7 separate regions of the Homo sapiens genome follow, and all the other regions are linked to region 7. The links are contacts of gene promoters, found by promoter capture Hi-C in blood cells and fetal thymus (Javierre and others, 2016). All regions are on one chromosome and are shown on one strand. Each heading gives the region's core, a stretch centred on a gene start or on the middle of the fragment in contact. The rest is flanking DNA. Distances are from core to core; before and after follow the strand shown. Region 1 overlaps DNM3 (dynamin 3). Region 2 overlaps DNM3 (dynamin 3). Region 3 overlaps DNM3 (dynamin 3). Region 4 has its middle 72 kb from the start of FASLG. Region 5 overlaps DNM3 (dynamin 3). Region 6 has its middle 55 kb from the start of FASLG. Region 7 holds the start of C1orf105 (chromosome 1 open reading frame 105).

The links. The method cuts DNA at HindIII sites, captures the fragments that hold promoters and counts their contacts. A CHiCAGO score of 5 or more calls a contact.
Region 1: a fragment that was not itself captured here is called in contact with the fragment with the promoter of C1orf105 in region 7 in 9 of 17 cell types (naive CD4 T cells, total B cells, activated CD4 T cells and 6 more); the score reaches 9.4 in naive CD4 T cells.
Region 2: a fragment that was not itself captured here is called in contact with the fragment with the promoter of C1orf105 in region 7 in 10 of 17 cell types (activated CD4 T cells, naive CD4 T cells, non-activated CD4 T cells and 7 more); the score reaches 11.2 in activated CD4 T cells.
Region 3: a fragment that was not itself captured here is called in contact with the fragment with the promoter of C1orf105 in region 7 in 9 of 17 cell types (naive B cells, total B cells, total CD4 T cells and 6 more); the score reaches 8.7 in naive B cells.
Region 4: a contact is called between a fragment that was not itself captured here and the fragment with the promoter of C1orf105 in region 7, in 1 of 17 cell types (erythroblasts). The highest score is 8.2, in erythroblasts.
Region 5: a contact is called between a fragment that was not itself captured here and the fragment with the promoter of C1orf105 in region 7, in 3 of 17 cell types (M1 macrophages, non-activated CD4 T cells and total B cells). The highest score is 6.8, in M1 macrophages.
Region 6: a contact is called between a fragment that was not itself captured here and the fragment with the promoter of C1orf105 in region 7, in 4 of 17 cell types (erythroblasts, megakaryocytes, naive CD4 T cells and 1 more). The highest score is 10.2, in erythroblasts.

The regions. Positions count from the first base shown.
Region 1 is chr1:172,101,435-172,104,134 of GRCh38, forward strand. The region is part of intron 13 of DNM3 (dynamin 3); the gene reads left to right. Among named protein-coding and RNA genes, the nearest start is that of MIR3120, 36 kb to the right of the region's middle. The HindIII fragment of the contact is 5,224 bases long and covers 1-2,700 here.
Region 2 is chr1:172,083,746-172,086,785 of GRCh38, forward strand. The region is part of intron 12 of DNM3 (dynamin 3); the gene reads left to right. Among named protein-coding and RNA genes, the nearest start is that of MIR3120, 54 kb to the right of the region's middle. The HindIII fragment of the contact is 8,924 bases long and covers 1-3,040 here.
Region 3 is chr1:172,123,656-172,126,675 of GRCh38, forward strand. The region is part of intron 13 of DNM3 (dynamin 3); the gene reads left to right. Among named protein-coding and RNA genes, the nearest start is that of MIR3120, 14 kb to the right of the region's middle. The HindIII fragment of the contact is 461 bases long and covers 1,491-1,951 here.
Region 4 is chr1:172,729,536-172,732,299 of GRCh38, forward strand. No RefSeq gene overlaps it. Among named protein-coding and RNA genes, the nearest start is that of FASLG, 72 kb to the left of the region's middle. The HindIII fragment of the contact is 2,306 bases long and covers 274-2,579 here.
Region 5 is chr1:172,146,678-172,149,377 of GRCh38, forward strand. The region is part of intron 14 of DNM3 (dynamin 3); the gene reads left to right. Among named protein-coding and RNA genes, the nearest start is that of DNM3OS, 3.2 kb to the left of the region's middle. The HindIII fragment of the contact is 3,683 bases long and covers 1-2,700 here.
Region 6 is chr1:172,712,949-172,715,648 of GRCh38, forward strand. No RefSeq gene overlaps it. Among named protein-coding and RNA genes, the nearest start is that of FASLG, 55 kb to the left of the region's middle. The HindIII fragment of the contact is 611 bases long and covers 1,135-1,745 here.
Region 7 is chr1:172,419,246-172,422,078 of GRCh38, forward strand. It overlaps C1orf105 (chromosome 1 open reading frame 105), which reads left to right and starts at 1,440. Exons shown (of 7, transcript NM_139240.4): 1 at 1,440-1,661. The coding sequence starts at 1,641. All of the region lies in intron 1 of LOC102724528 (a long non-coding RNA gene), which reads right to left. The HindIII fragment of the contact is 10,347 bases long and covers 1-2,833 here.

The DNA of each region.
Region 1 (2,700 bases), core at 50-2,549, 320 kb before region 7:
AGCAAATTAATTAAACCTTACTGTACCTCAGTTTTCTAATCTGTAATAAGCTGATAATAATAGTAACTGTTTCATAAGGTTTTTGTATTAAATGTGATAATACTAGTTAGGTACTTAGGTATGGTGTTGGGTGTTTTACACACATTAGCTCATTAATTCCTCTCAACAACTCTATGAGGTAGGTACCCCTATTATCTCAGTTTTACAGATGGGAAAACTGAGGCATGGAGAGGCAAAGTAACTTGCCCAGTCACACAGATCATAAATGATAGCACCAGGATTCAAATCTTAATCACCATGTTTAACCACAGTTCTAATCACTGTGTTTAACCACAGTTCTAATAGTTTGTAAATTTCATCAAGCATCTCATTTTGTAGTCTCAATTATTTATAGTCTCATCATTTACATTAATTTGCTTTTTTTATTACTTAATTTTTTTTTTTGAGACAGTTTTTCTCTGTTGCCCAGGCTGGAGTGCAATGGTGTGATATCGGCTCACCGCAATCTCTGCCTCCCAGGTTCAAGCAATTCTCCTGCCTCAGCCTCCTGGGCAGCTGGAATTACAGATGTGTGCCACCACGCCTGGCTAATTTTTGTATTTTTAGTAGAGACGGGGTTTCACCATGTTGGCCAGGCTGGTCTTGAACTCTTACCTCAGGTGATCTACCCACCTCGGCCTCTCAAAGTGCTGGGATTACAGGTGTGAGCCACCACGCCCGGCCACTTAAAATTTTTCTTAAAATAAAGCCATTAGATCTGAAAAGAATGAGCTCGGCTTTATAGAAATTAATCTGATGAACCAAAAAACTACAATGGCTATTTGAATTTGTTGCCATTTTGTTTTTTAATTCTATAAAAATATCTCCAAAGGGGCCAGTCAATAGCTTGTAAAATATAATAATCATTATTTTATTATAATAAAATAGAGATTAGAGTTTATGAAAACCACACTTTGTCAAATATACAGCCTGTTAATTTGTTCTGCGTCTTTGAGATCTAGAGTTTTATTTGGAATAGTATTTAATGTATGCCACTTATGTTTTTTCCCCAGAAAATAAGCAGATGTTCTTTCCATATTTTTACAGCCAAGTTGCATCTTAATGGAGGGTTTAGAGCATAAAAACCAGTGAAGAGATTATCTTATCTACTCAAAATTACTTTGAAATACCCCTTCAATAGGCAGAATCTAGGTTTTCTGCTATGTTTTTACTTTGGGACAGTAGAGGCATGGTCTTGTTTCACCAGAGGAAGAACAACTGGTGAAACAAAGGCATCTCTCCTCCTGCCTCCCTCCGGCTGCCCCATAGCTCCTCTCTCTCCCTCCCTGCTTCCCTCTTTTCCTCCCTCTGTCTCTTTTATCCTCTTTGATGCTCTCTGTTTTACAAGTGTGGTGTGTTTGATTCCAAGTAAGCAAATGCCTGTATTATTCCAATTCCTTGGAATTTTGATAACATTTAAAAATGTTAATGTTTCTCACCAAAGATATTATTTTATTAACCACTGTATAGCTTATTTAGCACAAAGTATCCATGGAGCCAATAAAGTATCCATTTGTTACTTGTATCCAAAGTACATAATTTTGAATCTATAATTTTCAAGTTAAACAATAAATATATGAACACATTTTTACTGTGAAAAAGTTGAATAATGCAGATAAAATAAATACACCCTTGACCCCCACCCAATCCCACTCACCTCCATAGCTACCACCACTGTTATCATTTTGGAGTATATATACACATATATACACACACAAGCACATGGGTACACACCCACCCACACACAAAGACACTGTGATTTAAAAAAATAAAAATAGACAAATATTGTACATGTTTTGTTCTAAAATTGTAAACTCTACCAAGGCAAGGATTTTTGTCTCTTTTGCTTATTAATGTATCCCTAACAATGTCTAAAAGCTGGTGTATGGTAGCTGCTGAGTAAATATGTGAAGTTGACCTCACTTTATTCATTTAATGATATGTCTTAGGGATTTTTCCATGTAAATTCGCAGACATAAAATGACAAAACTTCTTTGTGGCATAATATTATAGTGTTCTACAGTATGGATGTGCCATACTTAATTCACATTTCCCTAAGGATAGGTATTTCTGCTGTTTCCAGTTTTTCCAAAACACCTGAACCAGTTCATAGACCCAACAACTATATATGTAAGTACCTCAATCCCCAGTACTGGATAATTATATTTTATATAATTTTTGATAATCTAACAGAAATAATAATATATTGTTGTTGTGATTTGCATTTTACTTATTGAAAGTTACAGAGGCCAGGCGCGGCGGCTCACGCCTGTAATCCCAGCACTTTGGGGTGCCAAGGAGGGTGGATCACGAGGTCAGGAGATCGAGACCATCCTGGCCAACATAGTGAAACCCCATCTCTACTAAAAATACAAAAATTAGCTGGGCGTGGTGGTGCATGCCTGTAATTTCAGCTACTCAGGAGGCTGAGGCAGGAGAATCACTTGAACCAGGGAGTTGGAGGTTGCAGTGAGCCCAGATCGTGCCACTGCACTTCAGTCTGGGTGACAGAGCGAGACTCCGTCTCAAAAAAAAAGTTACAGACCAGCCTTATACCTATTTAACAGACTTTGGTATCCCTTCTCCTATGAAATGTCTGATGTGTCTTTTGCCCATTTTAGGGAACCATTGTATTATTTTCTTATTGATTTTTAGGATTTT
Region 2 (3,040 bases), core at 365-2,864, 340 kb before region 7:
ATTTCCATATTTGCTGCCTTAGAAGCTGTTGGACTATGGTTTTATATTGATTATATTGATTTATAGGTTTCCAAGGGCAGGTGATTTTTCAAATTTAAGACTTTCAAACACAATCTTTTGACGTAGTCTCTCTGTGTCTGGTCCTATTTTTCTGGTCCAGGTGTCTGGTCCTATTTTTCCAGCAGTGAGATAGACTATGAATCTTTATGATATTGGGGAGAAAAAAAGAAGCATAGGTAAAACTGCTTTAGAAAGCCAGCAACTCTACACATTTCTCATCTAATTTAAATTGCACACTTAAACCTTCTTTAAAGGACTGATCTGGGAGTCAACAATCCAGGTTGTTTTTCCAGGATATGCCACTGATGAGCTTTGGGTTTTGGCAAGGTGCTCAGCCTTTCTCTATCTGTTTACTGATGTATCAAATGGAATAATAATCCTTGTCTTGTATACCTTTCAGGATTGTCAGAAGATCAAATTAATCAAGTTATGTGGAAATCCTTTAAAAAAAACTATGGTGTAGTCTATAAATGTGAGAGATCCTCCCTGTCTCTCACTCTCTCCACATACATGCACGTGTGCACACATACACACACATACACTCACATTTGATTACTAGATGTACCATTTTACTTTATGATGTAGTTATAATGACTTAAGTATGATTGTCACTGGAATATTTTTTAGCTGCTAATATCATTATCTCTAAATGTGATATTTTGCCCCAAGACTCAGAGATAAATGTCCTTTCCATTTGTATGTCGACTTGGAATTGACATGGGGTGACGTGGAGTGATTATGAAGATGAAGAAATGTTCATTTCAAAATCACTTTGAGGGGTTGTGGTATTTTTTGTGCTTTTAAAAATTAAAAAAATATGGTTGTAGCTATAAATTTTAAAGTTGGCAAGAATGCTGTTTCCATCAAGGAAGAAAAGTCAAGCCATATTTGAAGACAATTATGTAAGTATTTTTAAGTTCCAAAGACAGAAAATTAAGGTCTGGGGTTGAAGAAAACAAGCATTTGTTTCATGAGATTTTTAGAGAGTTGCCAAAAGGGAAGGAACTGCCTCCCAGATTTATAGGATGGTGATGTACATAGTACTTTACACATGTAATTTTTTTCAACTTGGATGACTTTTTGTTCTAATTTTTTAAAAAATGAAAATGAATTGCTAAAATTGGATTAATAAAATATTTACTTTCAGAGTAGCATTCAGGACATCTCAAAATTCTTCTTTCTGTTATAGAATTTATACTGTCATGTTTAATATGTGACACTTTTTTTCCATCTTCTAGTTATTTGTTAGACATGGCCTGTAAAATATGTACCGTGTGTAATGTGTCCAAATAAGCACTGCTCTAGGCTTGCTTTGGAATTTCCTGGCTTCTAAATGTTTTTTCAACTATAATATAGTTTCTGAGCCTGAAAGTTCAGCATTTCAGAAGAAAACGTCAAATTTCTTTGTGACTTAAGGGTTTTAATTTGTCATTCTCTGCTTTAGAAAAAAAAAAACCCTAAATTACATATATTTTTACATAATATAGCTAGTTTTTGCTATTTAAGAAAATAAGAACTGGCCCAATTGTTCCTTCATTCACTTCCCCTCGTCCTCAGTAATCCTCTTTTGAACAAAAAGGCAATCTTGTTAGTGGAATGCCTTGGGAAGTGAAATTTCAAACTCCTCTGCTCTTCTTCATTTGTTCCATGACACAATTTGCTTTCTGAGTTACTAGGATTTATGCAGTCCAATGGTTAAAGAGAAAGAGGGACTATAGATATGTGCCGTTAGAGTGATATCTCTATACACCGCAAGCAGCAGACCAAGGTCTGTTTGTTTTTCAATCTGCTCAGTAGGTCTCAACACCTGTTTTCTCACAGTTGAAATGATACAGTGTGCAGATTTCAGTTCTTGTTATTTGAGCACCATGAAAATTCTATGGGTCTTAAGATTTGTTATATCTTTTTCCTGATCCTCTGGAATGCCTCTATTGCCGTTTTACTGAAGGCAGTGCATTTCAACCTTGCCACTAAATTCCAGAGCAATCTTAGTCTTTCCCTTTACATTCTTAGTTTATTTTTCCCTAATGCATAATTATATTCTATTGTAATAATGTTTCTAGTTCCTAATCTTACATGAGAATGTTCTCTCTCTTGTGGAATCAAAACTTAGGTATTGGAGTATAAAAAGATCCTTTTTTTGACTTATATGCAAATTTAGGAATTAAATGCTTGGTTGCTTACTGAGATTGTTGTCAAGTAGAAATACAGGATTGAGCAACTTGAAAGGATACCATTCACATATCCTGTTCAAATAAGTTATAAATTCCAATGTTCCAAGCACCATTTTAAAAATAAGTAGACTTCCAGTTTTCTCTTTCATCCTCAAATATGTTATTTTAAACTTCATCTTCATCCTTAACATGAATCTTAGGAGGTAAGTGATTCTTCTTTTGCAGACTCCCAAGTTCTGTAAGATTTTCTTGCATAATAGCCTGAGCCTTCATTAAAGATCCTGGAGGAGAAACGGACATTGTTTCTTCTCCCTTTGGCTTCAGTCTGATTGGACGGAGCCTGGACTATCACAGTGTAACCTGTGATAAGTTACACTCTTGGGACTCTTGTGAAGTGTTCATAATCTTTCTTGGATAATATAAAAGAACAGTCTAAAATTGCTTTACTCTGTAGCACCATTGCACAATAGAACTTTCTGAGATGATGGAACTATTGTATAATCTGTGCTGTTCAATACAGAAGCCACTAGCTGTATGTGGCTATTGAGCAGTTGAAATGTGGGTAGTGCAATGAAGGCAATAAATTTTTAATTTAATTCAATCTAATTAAAGTTTTAATCTGGCTACCAGCTACTGCATTGGACGGCAGAGCCCTACAGTATAGTGACTCCGGCTGATGGCTCTGGGACCTTCACTGTGGGTCCTACTTTATTGACAGCTTAGTGGTGACCTATGGTGGTAGCTACTGAGAGAAAGAGCAAGGAAGCCTCTTAATTGCTACTAAACAAGTCTAAAAGAGCTTCTTT
Region 3 (3,020 bases), core at 471-2,970, 300 kb before region 7:
GGCCCAGGACTACACTTCCCTTTTTGTCCATCCAGATCAATGTGAGAAGTCACTTTACTCCTCCTGGGGAGGACTGAGTGAGGAAACAACAAGAGTGCCTCTCCATTCCTCAACCCTCAGCGGTATTGCTCCATCTTCTCCCACCTTTTATTCCATTGAGTTTAATCCTTATTCTGGTGGCCAACCAGGGCTGTGGCTATCCCTCTTTGAGGTAAGAAGTCAAAGCTCTATCAGTTCTGCTTCTACCTTCTTGATATCACTCCCCCAAAGCTAATCATGGCTCCTATGGGCATCCTCTTAGCACCACTAGTGGACAGAAAGTTCTGAGAGGGGTCAAAGCAGTGCATTTGTAGAGTCCACTTCAAGGCCAGCCTATGTACAAGGTTACACGTTTGCTCCTTATTTCTTGTTTCAAATTATGTTCAGACATGCTGTTTCTATAGCTTATCAGAAATTCTGCAATGATCAAATGAAATAATATACATTAATAATAAAATATCAACAAACTAGACATGGGAATTTTGTGAGCCCCCTCCTCAATGTGAATATGAATCCTCTCCTACTGTGAAGTTCCTAGATACAAAAGTTCAAGAATTACATTCCCAAAGGTGTTTTTAAGAAGTTAGCTTTGCCACCATGCATTTACCGTCAAGGGGGAAAGCCATCTATGTGCATACTCTTGGAGAAGGACACTTGAAACATGGCCGTCTATTGCAAAATTCAGGAATTTGCAGGGACCACAGCTCCAGTTACCCACCAGGATATTTTTTAGTTGCCTTCCTTTTCCATACAGCATATTCAAAACCTCCTAATTTTTACTTTCCTTTTTCCTTTGCATTTCTCCTCCTGCCTCCTGTTACAAAATTTACTGGTCTAAGAAGCCTAGGCTTCCTGAGGAGACATTCTCCCCTCTATCTCATTAATCCAGAGCCAGCTGGAAAGCATGTGCTTAGGAGAAGAGTGAGTGGGGTGGGAGAGACCCTTAAGTCTGTAAATAAGCCACACCAGTTAAGGTTAGCTCTCCACAGTTCCCTTCTTGCCCTGGCCCAGAGCACGGAATGGCACTGATGGCAGCTGATCTAACCCTTCCTTCCTAGGCCTGGCTCTGACAGGTTAATACTAGAACCTATAGAGTGCATTGTGGTATGTACAGACCTCAGCTACCTTATAGTATAAAATTAGGAAATCTAGTTCACCTCTCGAGGCCTGCCAGGCCTGTAAATGGGAAGACTCTTTTCCCTATAGTTAAATCCCTGTCTCAGGCATGCCTTAGAAACGAGTCTGCTAGCCAAATTCAAGGACAAGTAACCTGTATCCTGAGGATGCCTGTGCTCGCAAAGGTAGATCTTTCCTAACCAACTGGGTGACTGGACTGTCCATTGCCTTCGAGGAGCCCATGCAGCTCCCCAGCATTTGGCCAGGTAGGCTCCAAGGTATGTGAACTACCTTTATAGAAGCAGCTGCTTATCTACTGAGAAAGCCTAGTTATAAGCTTTTGTAATCTACCAAGATCAAACTATCTAACGGTGCATGGATTATAACCTTTATCTAGGCTGCAGCAGTTAAAAAAAAAGACAGCTGCATAGCTGAAAAAAACTTGCATGGTCGACCATAAGTGAGATCAAGGTCAAACCCCCTGCTCACAGGGTTCAAGACCTTGGCCACACTAGAAGTCTTCCACATGTACTTTTGTCTTCCCATGATTTTATTCCTTGTCTCTGTATTGATTTTATGATCCAGTATGTCAGCCAGATGTTGGGGTCTGAACTTACCCGTAACATACAGGTTTTGCTGACCTTGACAAAATCTGTTTTCTCATAGCATGGAGGAAACTAACAGAACACATATTCTCTTAGGGTAGGCTAATCACCAAGAGAAGAGGCTGGGCTGTTCCACTCTTCCCATTGCTGGTCTTGCAGTTGCTTTCAAAGTTTTCCTATTTGGCAAAAGAAGCTTGGGTGATATTTATGGGCAATAAATTTAAAAAAAACAGTTTGTCTCCTGCTGAACAAATGAGAACATGCCCTTTTAGCTCTCAAGGTCCTTTCTAGTCATGTAATTATGGGTTTGCTTGTTCTTGTTTACTCGAATACTCAAAACAGAATTTGATATTCAAATACTAAGAAGATGTAAGTGGCTGTTGTAGTGGACATTAATAGATTTATTTTGGCAGTTTTAAATTTGAATATAAAATTAACATTTTATATTTTCTCTTTCTCTGTGAAGGGCTTCTACCACTAATCCTATTTGTCTTGGCATTCTTTTCAAATTTTATTTAGTCTTTGACTTCTGTTCCCACTTACTTTCCTTTTTCTTTTCTTTTTATTAATTTCCCCTTATTGGTCTTACTCCTTGTGGTCTGACCATTTTTCCTGAATGTCTGCCTTTTCTTATCTCATTCCACTGTTTTACTTTGATTTTGCAGCTTCTTTCCCTCAATTCCTTAGTGAAAAGTACATTAGGAATTGTTCTTTCTAAAATCCTATTTTGAGCTGATTGTTATCAGAAAAACAAGTCCATTTGTGAAAAATGTGCTTCCTTTATTGTAAAAGAAAGGGCTGGGATTGGACTACTGCTTCTTAACCTTTTTATGATGGCAGCTTAATTGCTGACAACATCCAGTGCTGAACTCACTTCCATGGGTAACTGGTAAGAGATGTGGGTCATGTTTCTTCACAACATGGCAGCTGTAATCTTCTTTTTCCCTTCAAATTAGAAAGCATATTGCATTGCAAGTGATATAATGTCATAGGGATAATCTTAAATATATTCTAATTATTTGTATGTCCATTCTTTGAAAATTTTAACTGTTATTAGTAAAATTTTTAAATTTTTAAATTAAAATTAGCAAAATAATTGTCCTGTAGCTCAGTTGACTAAATCCACTGGACTAAATGATGTTTAATAAATATCCTTTTCAGCTACATTAAATGCTTCTAGAAATAGTGGTGCATCTTTGAGGAATGAATCTAATGGTGCCAGTAAGATCAGGCAATTTATTTAGCATCACATCAGCTTAA
Region 4 (2,764 bases), core at 177-2,676, 310 kb after region 7:
GGTAGAAGAAATTCAGATAACAGCTGGAAGATACTATACAAGACAAACATCACCAAGGCATATAATCATCAGACTATCCAAGGTCAATGTGACAGAATAAATATTAAAGGGAGCTAGAGAGAAATGTCAAATCACTGATAAAATAAATTCCATCAGACTAACAGCAGACTTCTCAGCAGATGCCTTACAAGCTAGAAGAGAAAAGTGGGCCTATTTTTCACTTCTTTAAAGAAAAGAAAATGCTAGCCAAGAATTTTATATCCTGCCAAACTAAGCTTCATAAATGAAGGAGAAATAGACTTTTCCAGACAAGCAAATGATAAGGGAATTAATCACCACTAGACTGACCCTACAAGAAATGATCAAATTAGTCATAAATATGAAAACAAAAGGACAATACTTGCCATCATAAAAGCACATGTAAAAGAAAGCCCACAGACCCTATAAAGCAATTGTACAATTGAGACCCAAGGCAACTAGCTAACAATGCTATGACAGAAACAAAACTACACATTGAATATTAACTTTAAAAGTAAATGGCCAAAATGCTCCACATAAAATATATATACTATAGATCTAGGAAAACTGGATTAAAAGAACCAAGACCCAATCATCTTTTGCCTACAAGAGAACGACTTAATGGTTAAAGCACCTACGGACTCAAAGTAAAGGGATGGAAAACATGTACCATGAAAATGTAAAACAAAAGCAAATAGGAGTAGCCATCCTTATTGTATCAGATAAAACAAACTTTAAACCAACACAATTTTTTAAAAAGACTAAAAAGGGTATTATGTAATTATAAAGGGTTCAATACAACAAGCAGATTTAACCATCCTAAATATATGTGTACCCAACACCAGGGCATGCAGATTCATAAAACAAATACTGCCAGACCTAAGAGAAGAAATGGACAGCAATACAGTAGTAGTCAGGGACTTCAGCACTCCCCTGACATAACTAGAGAAGTCATGGAGGTAGAAAGTCAACAAACTCTGGACTTAAACTGAACTCTAGACCAAATGGACCTAATAGACATTTACAGAACATCCTACCCAACAACCACAGAATATACAGTTTTCTCACCTGCACATGAAACATTCTCCAAAACTGACCATATGCTTGGCCACAAAACAAGTCTCTACAACTTCGAAAAAATTTAAATCATATCAAATGTCTTCTTGGACCACAAGGAAATAAAATTAGAAATCAATGCCAACAGGAACCCTGAAACTTACACAAGTACATAGGAACTAAACAACTTGCTCCTGAATGACTTTTGGGTAAACAAAATTAAGGCCAAAATCAAATTTTCTTTGAAACAAATAATATAGAGGCACAAGATACCAAAACCTCTGGGAAACAGCAAAAGTAGTACTAAAGGGAAAATGTATAGCATTATATACCTACATAAAAAAGATAGAAAAATCTAAAATTAGCAGCCTAACTTTGCACTTCAAGGGACTAGAAAAGCAAGAGCAATCCAAACCCAAAGCTAGCAGAAGAAAAGAAATAACAAAGATCAAATCAGAACTAAATGAGATTCAGACAAAAAAAAATTACAAAGAATCAACAAAATGAAAAATTGATTCTTTGAAAGGATAAATAAAACAGGTAGATCACTAGCTAGTTTAAGCAAGAAAAAAGAATCATGTAAGCACAATCACAAATGGTAAAGGTGACAACATTACAACTGATACCACAGAAATACAAAAGATCTCCAGAACTGGCCCGGTGCAGTGGCTCATGCCTGTAATCCCAACACTTTGGGAGGGGGAGGCGGGCGGAACACCTGAGGTCAGGAGTTCAAGATCAGCCTGGCCAACATGTTGAAACCCCGTCTTTACTAAAAATAATAATAATTTAAAAATTGGCTGGGCATGGTGACGGGTGCCTGTAGTCCCAGCTACTTTGGAGGCTGAGGCAGGAGAATCGCTTGAACCCAGGAGAGGGAGGTCATAGTGAGCCAAGACTGTGCCATTGCACTCTAGCCTGGGCATTGAGAGTGAAACTTTGTCAGAAAACAAAACAAAACAACTCCAGAATTATCAACATCCCTATGTGTACACCCTAGAAAACCTGGAAGAAATGGATAAATTCCTGGAAACATGCAACCTTCCACGTTTGAACCAGGAAGAAATAGAAATCCTAAACAGACCAATAACAAGTAATGAAATTGAATCAGTAATAAAGAAAAATCTTTCTCCCAGCTAACACGGTGAAACTCAGTCTCTACTAAAAATACAAAAAAAAAAAAAAAAAAAAAAAAAAAAAAATTAGCCAGGCATGGTGGCGGGCGCCTGTAGTCCCAGCTACTCGGGAGGCTGAGGCAGGAGAATGGCGTGGACTCGGGAGGCGGAACTTGCAGTGAGCCGAGATCGCACCGCTGCACTCCAGCCTGGGCAACAGAGTGAGACGCCGTCTCAAAAAAAAAAAAAAAAAAAAAAAATCTTTCAACAAACAACAAAAGCCCAGGACCAGACAGATTTAAAAACAAATTTTACCAGATGTGCGAAGAAGAGCTGATACCAATCTTACCGTAGTTTTTTCACACCATTAAGGGGGAGCTATTCCTCCCAAGCTTGTTCTATGAAACCAGTATCACCCTGATACCAAAATCAGGCAATGACATTGAAAAAAAAAAAAAAAACTATGAGCCAATATTTCTGATGAACATATTCACAACAGCAAAGTCATGGAATTAACCTAAGTGTTGGTGAACATTTGACTGTATAAAGAAAATGGGTTATATATAGTATGCCAC
Region 5 (2,700 bases), core at 148-2,647, 270 kb before region 7:
CACATGAAGTCCTCATAGAGGAGCCATAAACCACTGAACCAGTAGTCAGCCAGTATTCCAGGTGTAGACCTGCTTCTGCCACAGAAAGTGAAAGCCTTTTTTTCTGCCCACTTTCATTTATGTCCATAAGACATGCCTTGGAAATTTTTGTCAAGGCAAACAAAAGGTGGTTTTGATCAGACTGCACCATGATTTCACCTTAGTCTGTACATCTATATGCCCTCAAATGGTTCTACTACCTACACCAAATAGAATCTTACAATATTTCCATCAAGTGACTTAACTTTATACTAATCATTATGACTCGTGAAACATTTTAAGGAATTTTCTCCAGAGACAGCTATAGAAATTGAGTTCCCCTTAGAATATATGTCCATCTCCTTGAGTTTCCAGTTAACTGAAGTGTTTGTGGGTGCTCTTGCCTCCAAATAGTTCAACGAATATTTATTCTTGCCTACTCACCTGCTAGTCACAATACCAGCAACTGGGCATACAAAGATTAAGACCTGACTCCTGCCCTCAAAAAGCTCACACTTACATAAAAAGTTAGGAATACACATCTGTTACCAAGTGCAGTTTAAAAAGTTGGTCATTCTGCTCTGAAAAGTCCTTGGCATTGATTTGGAAATGCCTTAATAACTTTTCTTACGTCTGTAAAGTTATCACTTGAATACCCAAAATGTATTGGGCCCTAGAAAGCAAGGTTGGACATGACAAATCCTTGACTTTGAGGAACTAAAGTTATTTAATTTGCTTATTTCAAAAGTTGTTGACCAAAGTGATTATTGAATCAATAGATGGTTTTGGGTGACTACAAAATTTGCTCTATTATAAAGGGTTATTAAAAGGAAACGCTGTTTCAGTTAGTTATTGTTCCCAATCTTGGCACATTTTTATGACTTTGGAAATTCTCAAATTGAAACCAGGACTGAGGCTTCTTTCTGTGTACCTCTAAAGGGGCAGGGTTACTAGTGTTTACAATTATTTTGTGATATCCAGATATGCGTACTTCAGCTAATATTTTATAGCCTTAAGTTTTTTTTGTTACAAGATTAGTGCACAAGTTCAAACAATAGAGAGGTATGTCAAGAAAAAAATTAATCATCATTATCCATTCCAACTTCTTAATCATCATTATCCCTTCCAACTTCTTAACCCTTTCTGTCTTCCCAAACTAATGGTAACTGTTTGGCATGATTCCTTTGACTACTTTCTCAATGGTCATTTTACAGCTTCTTTACAGATTACAAAATCCATTCATGTACAACGTATTTGTTTCTTATAATAATCCTATAGTGTAGCTATTATTATCATCCCCATTTTATTGATGATAAAATTAAAGCTCAGAGAGCTTAAACATTATTTCATCAGAGTCCACAAATGGAAAAACTCAGTTTTTTTCTGTGCTCAGAAGGATATTGTCAACCTACAGAAACAACTTGTTCCCCTACCGAATTCTTATAGTGCTTATATTTCCTGTTGTTAAAATGCCAATTAATTATCTGCTGCGCTTTCACAGTTTTGTACTAAGACGTTACCTGTACTGTTATTTTATGTATTTAAACTTTTTTTTCCTAGATAAAATATAAGCTAATTGAAGGCAGGAACAATATATTTGTATTTTTTTTTTTTTTGACTGGCTGATGGTAGTCCATTTAGTAAACTGTTAAAAGAATGAGTAAAGAGCTATATGGTATGCATGTGGTTTCTGGTCAAATATTCGTCATGATAATAACTTAAGAATTACAGCTCTCTTAAAAAAATCATAAATAAAAAACATAGTGTGCTTTTAATATTTATATATGTGTCTGCAGCTACGCACCAGATTGAACTATTCTTTTTGAAATAAATGTAAACATTGAACCAACCATATTTCCTTGCTTATTTTTGGCCTTCTAATGTTCTGGAAGCATCCTGTGCAGCTACCAGTGATATAATCTTGTGTGAAAAGCAGGATCTAACCAAGTTGTAGTGTTTCCTTTCTTGTTGTTTTCTCCTTCCCAGTTTGTATCTAAGATAAAAATCTAGCTGACCTTAGTTCATTGCAAATTAGAGAAGATAGCCCCACTTAGTTTGGCTTTATGTTGTGTAGATTAGCACTTTTTTTTTTAATTGGAGGCAATGCAGTCCCCTAATCTCCTGCATTTCCTATTTTGTTAGGGCTCAAAGGAATAGATATGTTGTAGCAGAGCATTCCACTTTTCTTCCCTTTCCTGAATCACAAACAAATGGCTTCCCTCAAATCACTGCAGTGAAGTGCCTTCTTAGGCAGAGATGCAACATCAGCCTGTAAAATAAAGGAGAAATATTTCAGAGGAGTAAGAGATTTTCCTTCAACAACTGAAAAAGAAGTTAAATCAGAAAGCTATAAATCATAAACTTAATGCAACTGATTTTACAGTCTTCAGAAAGTTTGCAAAAGACAAAGATTGTGAGAGAATTGATTTTAAAACGTACATTTACGGACGCATGTTTTGTTTTTGCCCGTCTCTAAAATTTCCATTGCTGAGTCTGTTTATTTAGAAATAAGCTCCTAACCAAAAGCAGTATATATTTTATGAACATTCTTTCCTCAAATCAATTGAGAAAGATAATGTTACGTCTTTGAATTTTACTAACCACTGGCGTGCACAGCAGCCATTTTTATATTTCAGTAGCATAATACATCCAGCAGACAAACCTTAAAAACTCTAGCTCTAT
Region 6 (2,700 bases), core at 190-2,689, 290 kb after region 7:
TAAAATATTAGTTAGAAGTAAGCAAAAATAAAGGTGTTTTTTTTTCCATCTGAGTTCATGAACCCCTTGTATTTTATCCATGGGATCCTTGGGATATATGGACATCAGTTGATAAGTAATAACTCTGAGAAATGAAAGTGGGTAAGATAACCCATCTTCACTTAATTTTGTCAGGAGCTTGATAAGAGTCAACCCAATATTGATTGAGTGACTTAAGTAAAGATATAATTGTGAATTATGACAGAGATCCTTCAGTTTTAGATAACAAGAACAAAAGTTAACATTATATTGTAAAAACACTTTCAGTCTTCCATTTGCTTTTCTTTGTTATCTTGATTTTTAATTATTTATCGAATAACTTTTTAACAACAATGAAAAATACATCTTATTTCACTTTTCTCTCATGCCTTGGCAAAGAAGATAGAAATATAATTCTTTATGTTTGAATACATGAAAGAATGAGTGAATGAATTTGTTATTGGTATTCTTATTCTCTAGCTTCAGTCTTTCAATAAGTCTTTCTCTGAGATGCTAACAAGTAATATATAAAATTGATTACATAGAATTTCCTTGTCTTTTATCTCTCCAATCTTTTGCTTTGTGGAGATTTCAACACTTTTAGCAATAAAAAAATCATGTATTTGTATATTAAGGTCATTATATCATCAGCACCTGATTCACTGAAATTTCTTAAATTTAAGGACATCAGTGAATGACTGTCTGGTACTCAGAAAGTCCAGACAAGTGAGGCCTTTTCTTCTGCTTCCATTTTCCTTTTTTATGATTCATAGCTGACAGTGCAAAGACAGAGGTGAAAGAAACAGTGTAAAAGCAGGAAGACAGAAAGGGTGGTGAGAAGACAGAAAAGTAATAGTGAGACAAGGGGATGGAGGAGAAGAAAAATAAAAGAAATCTTTATTTGTGCCAAAAATGTACTATCATTTCATCATTCACATGGATCATTTGTAGCTGCTTTGTGTATACCTATGGGGTGATAAAGTTTCTATAAAAGGGTATCTCAAAGTGTGGACTGAAGAACGCCTGTGGTGTTTGTTTCTAATGTAGTTTCCTAGACCTGCCTCCCAATACACTGAATCAAAATCCCTGTGGGACCCAGTATTGTGCATTTTCACAAGCTTTCCAAGTGGTTCCAGTGCTCATAGAGAACCACTGATCTTGCTAAGAGGTAAAAACTTGGCTGACTCTTGCTAAGGTAAAGTGTATCTAATTTCCACCTTCTGAATTAGGCAGGAAAGAAAATCTGCTTTTTCACCCACTGATATCAACACTGCACTATAATTCAGGGATTTTGAAATTTGGCCAAATAATAGGTTAAGTGTTTTATTCATTTTAGCCAGTGATTAACAAGAAAAAATGGTAGCTTGCACACTGACTTAATTTGCATGGGCCTCTTGTTTTCCTCCTCAGCTTGTAAGAAAAGAAGGGACAGAATCAAGCTCTCCTGCTGATCCTGAGTATGTGAATTTGTTTAGGGGAGATTTTTACCCATGGGAATCTGCCAGTCATTCTTGGATGATAGCTAGCACAGGCAGAAATCTATATATTGAAGTACCTTTATATTATTCTCTAGAGAGAAAGAGCTATAAAACCAACCCCCAAATAATTTACCTCAGCTTTTGAAAGCATAGTCTTAATTATATTGCCTTTTCTTTTAGCATTGGGATTTGTCTTCCTAAGCCTCCTTTAAAATTCATTTTTTTCCTTTTTATGAAGGTACTTCATGAAGCTTAAGTATCCAAAATAGCCGTACTCACTGTAGAAGTCATCTAGAGCACTTTTCTAAGCTCTCTTTAGTCCACAATATTTCTATTAATTCCCCAGAGATACCAAACAACATTAAGAGGATCTCTGACAATCTGGCCATCTCTCTAGCCTCATTCCACATCTCAAGATCAGAAACAAAGATTCCTTAAATGTAAATGTAAAAGTAAAAAAAAATTAGATGAGAATGACACTATTTGAAGGTGCAAAATTCTGAGAGCGAAGTAAACTATCAACCTCCCTCTGATAATAAATAGAATACAATTTAAAAAGACAATACTAGTGATTTTGAAGTCTGTGATTTCTTTTTGAAGACAATTCTTCACATATGCATTTTTACTGATATTTAAGTAATTTCAAAACTGGCTATACAGCATTTAACTGAGGCACTAACCACTTTCTTGGTTTTCTTGGGATCACTGTCATTTAAAGGAAAGAGGCCTAAATCCTGGAAAAATAATCTATTTGAGAATTATGACAATTCCTTTCTACCAATCACCTGAATGACACACTATTATGCTTTTCAGGACAGACTCTTTACCTTAAGAATTAGTCAATCTACGTTACTCTGTTAACATTTTGTTATTTTATAGGTTAGATAATATAGTATCACTTCAAAGTTTAGAGTATTTTGAAGCATGAATTACAGAATTAACAGTTGTAAACAGGTTGCAAGAGATGGAGAAGTCAACCAACATCATCTTTCATCCTTCTGTGTACACAGCCTAGTGGTACTGTGGGTATCTGTTCATATTTAATAACTTCTGAGAAGTTGCTAAGTGGACTCCTAGTTGCTTCTTTTTTCATAATGTCCAAGGTTTCTTTGAGAAATTACTTTATTTATCAACTATGTAATAGGAACAAGTTTTAACCATGCAGGACTGATGAGAGTCTGTCTTAATTCATATGGACTGGCTT
Region 7 (2,833 bases), core at 190-2,689:
TCCTTCTCAAATGAGATCACTTCTGAATGTGCTCCCCTTCAGCATATTAAGATGACAGAAAACTACATGACAAGAGAGTCAAAAAAATCATTCATCAGTTCTATTTACTTCACATCTGACCTAGGCAAGCCCTGGCAAAGGAGGTATTTGGAAGATGTGGGCAGGAACCCCCAGTTGTAAAAGGGAGAGTCCTCATTAGTAATGCTGTTTCTTCGGACCACAAATTTTTTTAAGGACTGAGTTCTCCACTCAAAAATGAAAAATCAGTTTCTTGGTTTAAAATGTTCATATGGCATGTTACATTATTTTAATTGTATCCCCGGTCCAGTGACTACCATTTAAAATCAGTGATAACTAAGAAAGTTCAAAGGCTCCAAACCAAGGCATCAACTGAAGCTCATGTATAGCAGGAAGGAGGTGACTTGATGTAAAATAGCACATAGCATGCAGTCTTTTGTCCTTTCCTTCCCCTCCAGTCCAGGCATTTGATTTTTAAATCAATATTCTTAGTGGATAGCATTCTTCATCCCAATAGACAAAAATGTACCTAGATGATTTCATACCACCTCCCCAAATGAAAACCGAAGTTGTCAAAGAGAAGGTTTTCTTCAATTCATTTTTTAAAAGTGTTTGGTACTTTTCCACTTTGTCTTAAACATGGACTTATTTTTATATGCAGTGTTACACAGTTTAGATGTATAAAACTTAAATTGACCTGATGAATGATGAGAAGGAAAAACTCCAGTCATAACAGAATGAAATGACAACCTTACTCAGTTTTCCTTAACAAAGAAGTGTGTTCCCTTCCTTACATTCTATAGGCAAGAAAAAAGAGGGCAGGGGAAAGGGATGGGGGGCAGCCTGGAGTAAAATTAAATTATGCTAAGATTTGTTAATATGTATTTAGTAAATAGTATTTCTATGTTTCATAATATACCTTTCCCCAACTCTTCTTACCTCCACCTCCACCCTGCTATGTTTAATAGACTTGAAAAATTACTCCCTTTTTCAGAGTTGATCATAACTCAGGATAGTCAGGAAGAGCCAAACTATTATGCCTTTAGTAAACATAATATTCCTTATATATTTTCATTCCTTTATTTATGCATCAAACATTTCTTGAATTCATGATAATGTCCTGGACCCTGGGAATACCAGAGAAGTAACAGAATAAAAGTAGCTTACAAAATAGCTAAATAAGCAATTACAATGTAGTGCTACAATAAGAGAAAAGTTTGGTTGTCTTTCCAGGGAGAACTGTTCTGACTTCAGTACTGAAGCAGCTATCTGAGTTTTAGTATACTGTTATCAACTTTACCCAACACATGCTAATGTTCCAGAACATTGTGATTTTGACTTCTAACAAAGAAAGGAATACTAGAACTCATTTCAGCCAATCAGAAACTGAGCTTTTCATTCTGAATGGAATTATATGATTCAAGATGTAAATCACACAGATGTTGGTAGAGAAAAAGGCATACTGGTATTGAAACTGTAAACTGGCCTGTTTACTTCGTCTCCTAACAAAAAACACTTTGGATTCAGGTTCTCCACAGCAGTCTTCCACTGGCCACAGTGAGGGGAGCTAGGTTTCCCCAGTCTCCAGCTAGAAAAACTCAGAACATCTAAAGATCTGAAAGATGGAAAAAAGAGAACTAAAGGTAGGAAAAAAATAAATGAAACTTCCAATTCTTTCCTTATGGGGTTACCCTGGTAAATGTTTGTATGCCTTGGAGGCCACATAAACATTGAGGGGTGTTTCAACAGACATCCTAGAAGTTGAAAGCCAAAAGAAGGTAAGGAAATAACAGCTGATGTTCAGTTACAGGTGAAGATAATTTTAATGGGTTTGGGGCATGATAAATTTCAATGCTCTTTATCGTATAGTTTGGAAAAAATGTTGTACTTGCCAACATCTTTTATAACTCAGCATTTAAGTATGATTTTTTTAAATCCTCAGAAAATTGATACCAGATTCTTTAGTGCAGTTCCCTGAGATTCTGAAGTAAACCTTCTCAACTGTGAATGCACTTTAAAACAATGAATCTCAGTCACAGGAAGTTAAGATTGCTGAGAAAGAAAAAAAAACTTGTATAGACTTTTATAATTACTAGGGTCTAAATCTGAATAAATCACATTGAGCTTATGACACTGTATGTTTCCTATTTAAAGGGATATACTAGCTGTCTCTATTACCATAGTACAGGTGCTCCTTGACTTATGATAGGGTTACATCTCAATAAACCACCACAAGTTGAAAATATTGTAAGTCAAAAATGCATGCAATACCCTGATGAACCCATGATAAAGTAAAAAAATCCTAAGTTGGGGAGGACGCAGAGCAAGATGGCCAAACAGAAGCCTTCACTGATTGTTCTCCATGCACGAACATCAAATTTAACAACTATCTACACAAAAAAGCACCTTCATAAGAACCAAAAATCAGTGATCACAAAGTGATCACAGTACCTGGTTTTAACTTCGTATTGTTGAAAGAAGCACTGAGGAAGATAAGAAAGACAATCTTGAATTGCTGACACCACCCCTCCCCCATCCCCTGGCAGCAGCCACATAGTGTGGAGAGAGAATCTGTGCACTTGGAGGGAGGGCACAGCGATTGTGGGACTCTAGAATTCAGTGCTGCCAATACGGGGCAGAACTTAGCTGTTGCCAATGGAGGGACCATTTAGACCACCCTTAGCCAGAGGAGAATTGCCCATCCCAGGTTTCAGAAACTGAGTTTTGACTACCTCCACCACCATGGGCTAAAGTGCTCTGAGGTCCTAAATAAACTTGAAAGCCTGTCTGGGCCACAACAACTGCAATACCCAGG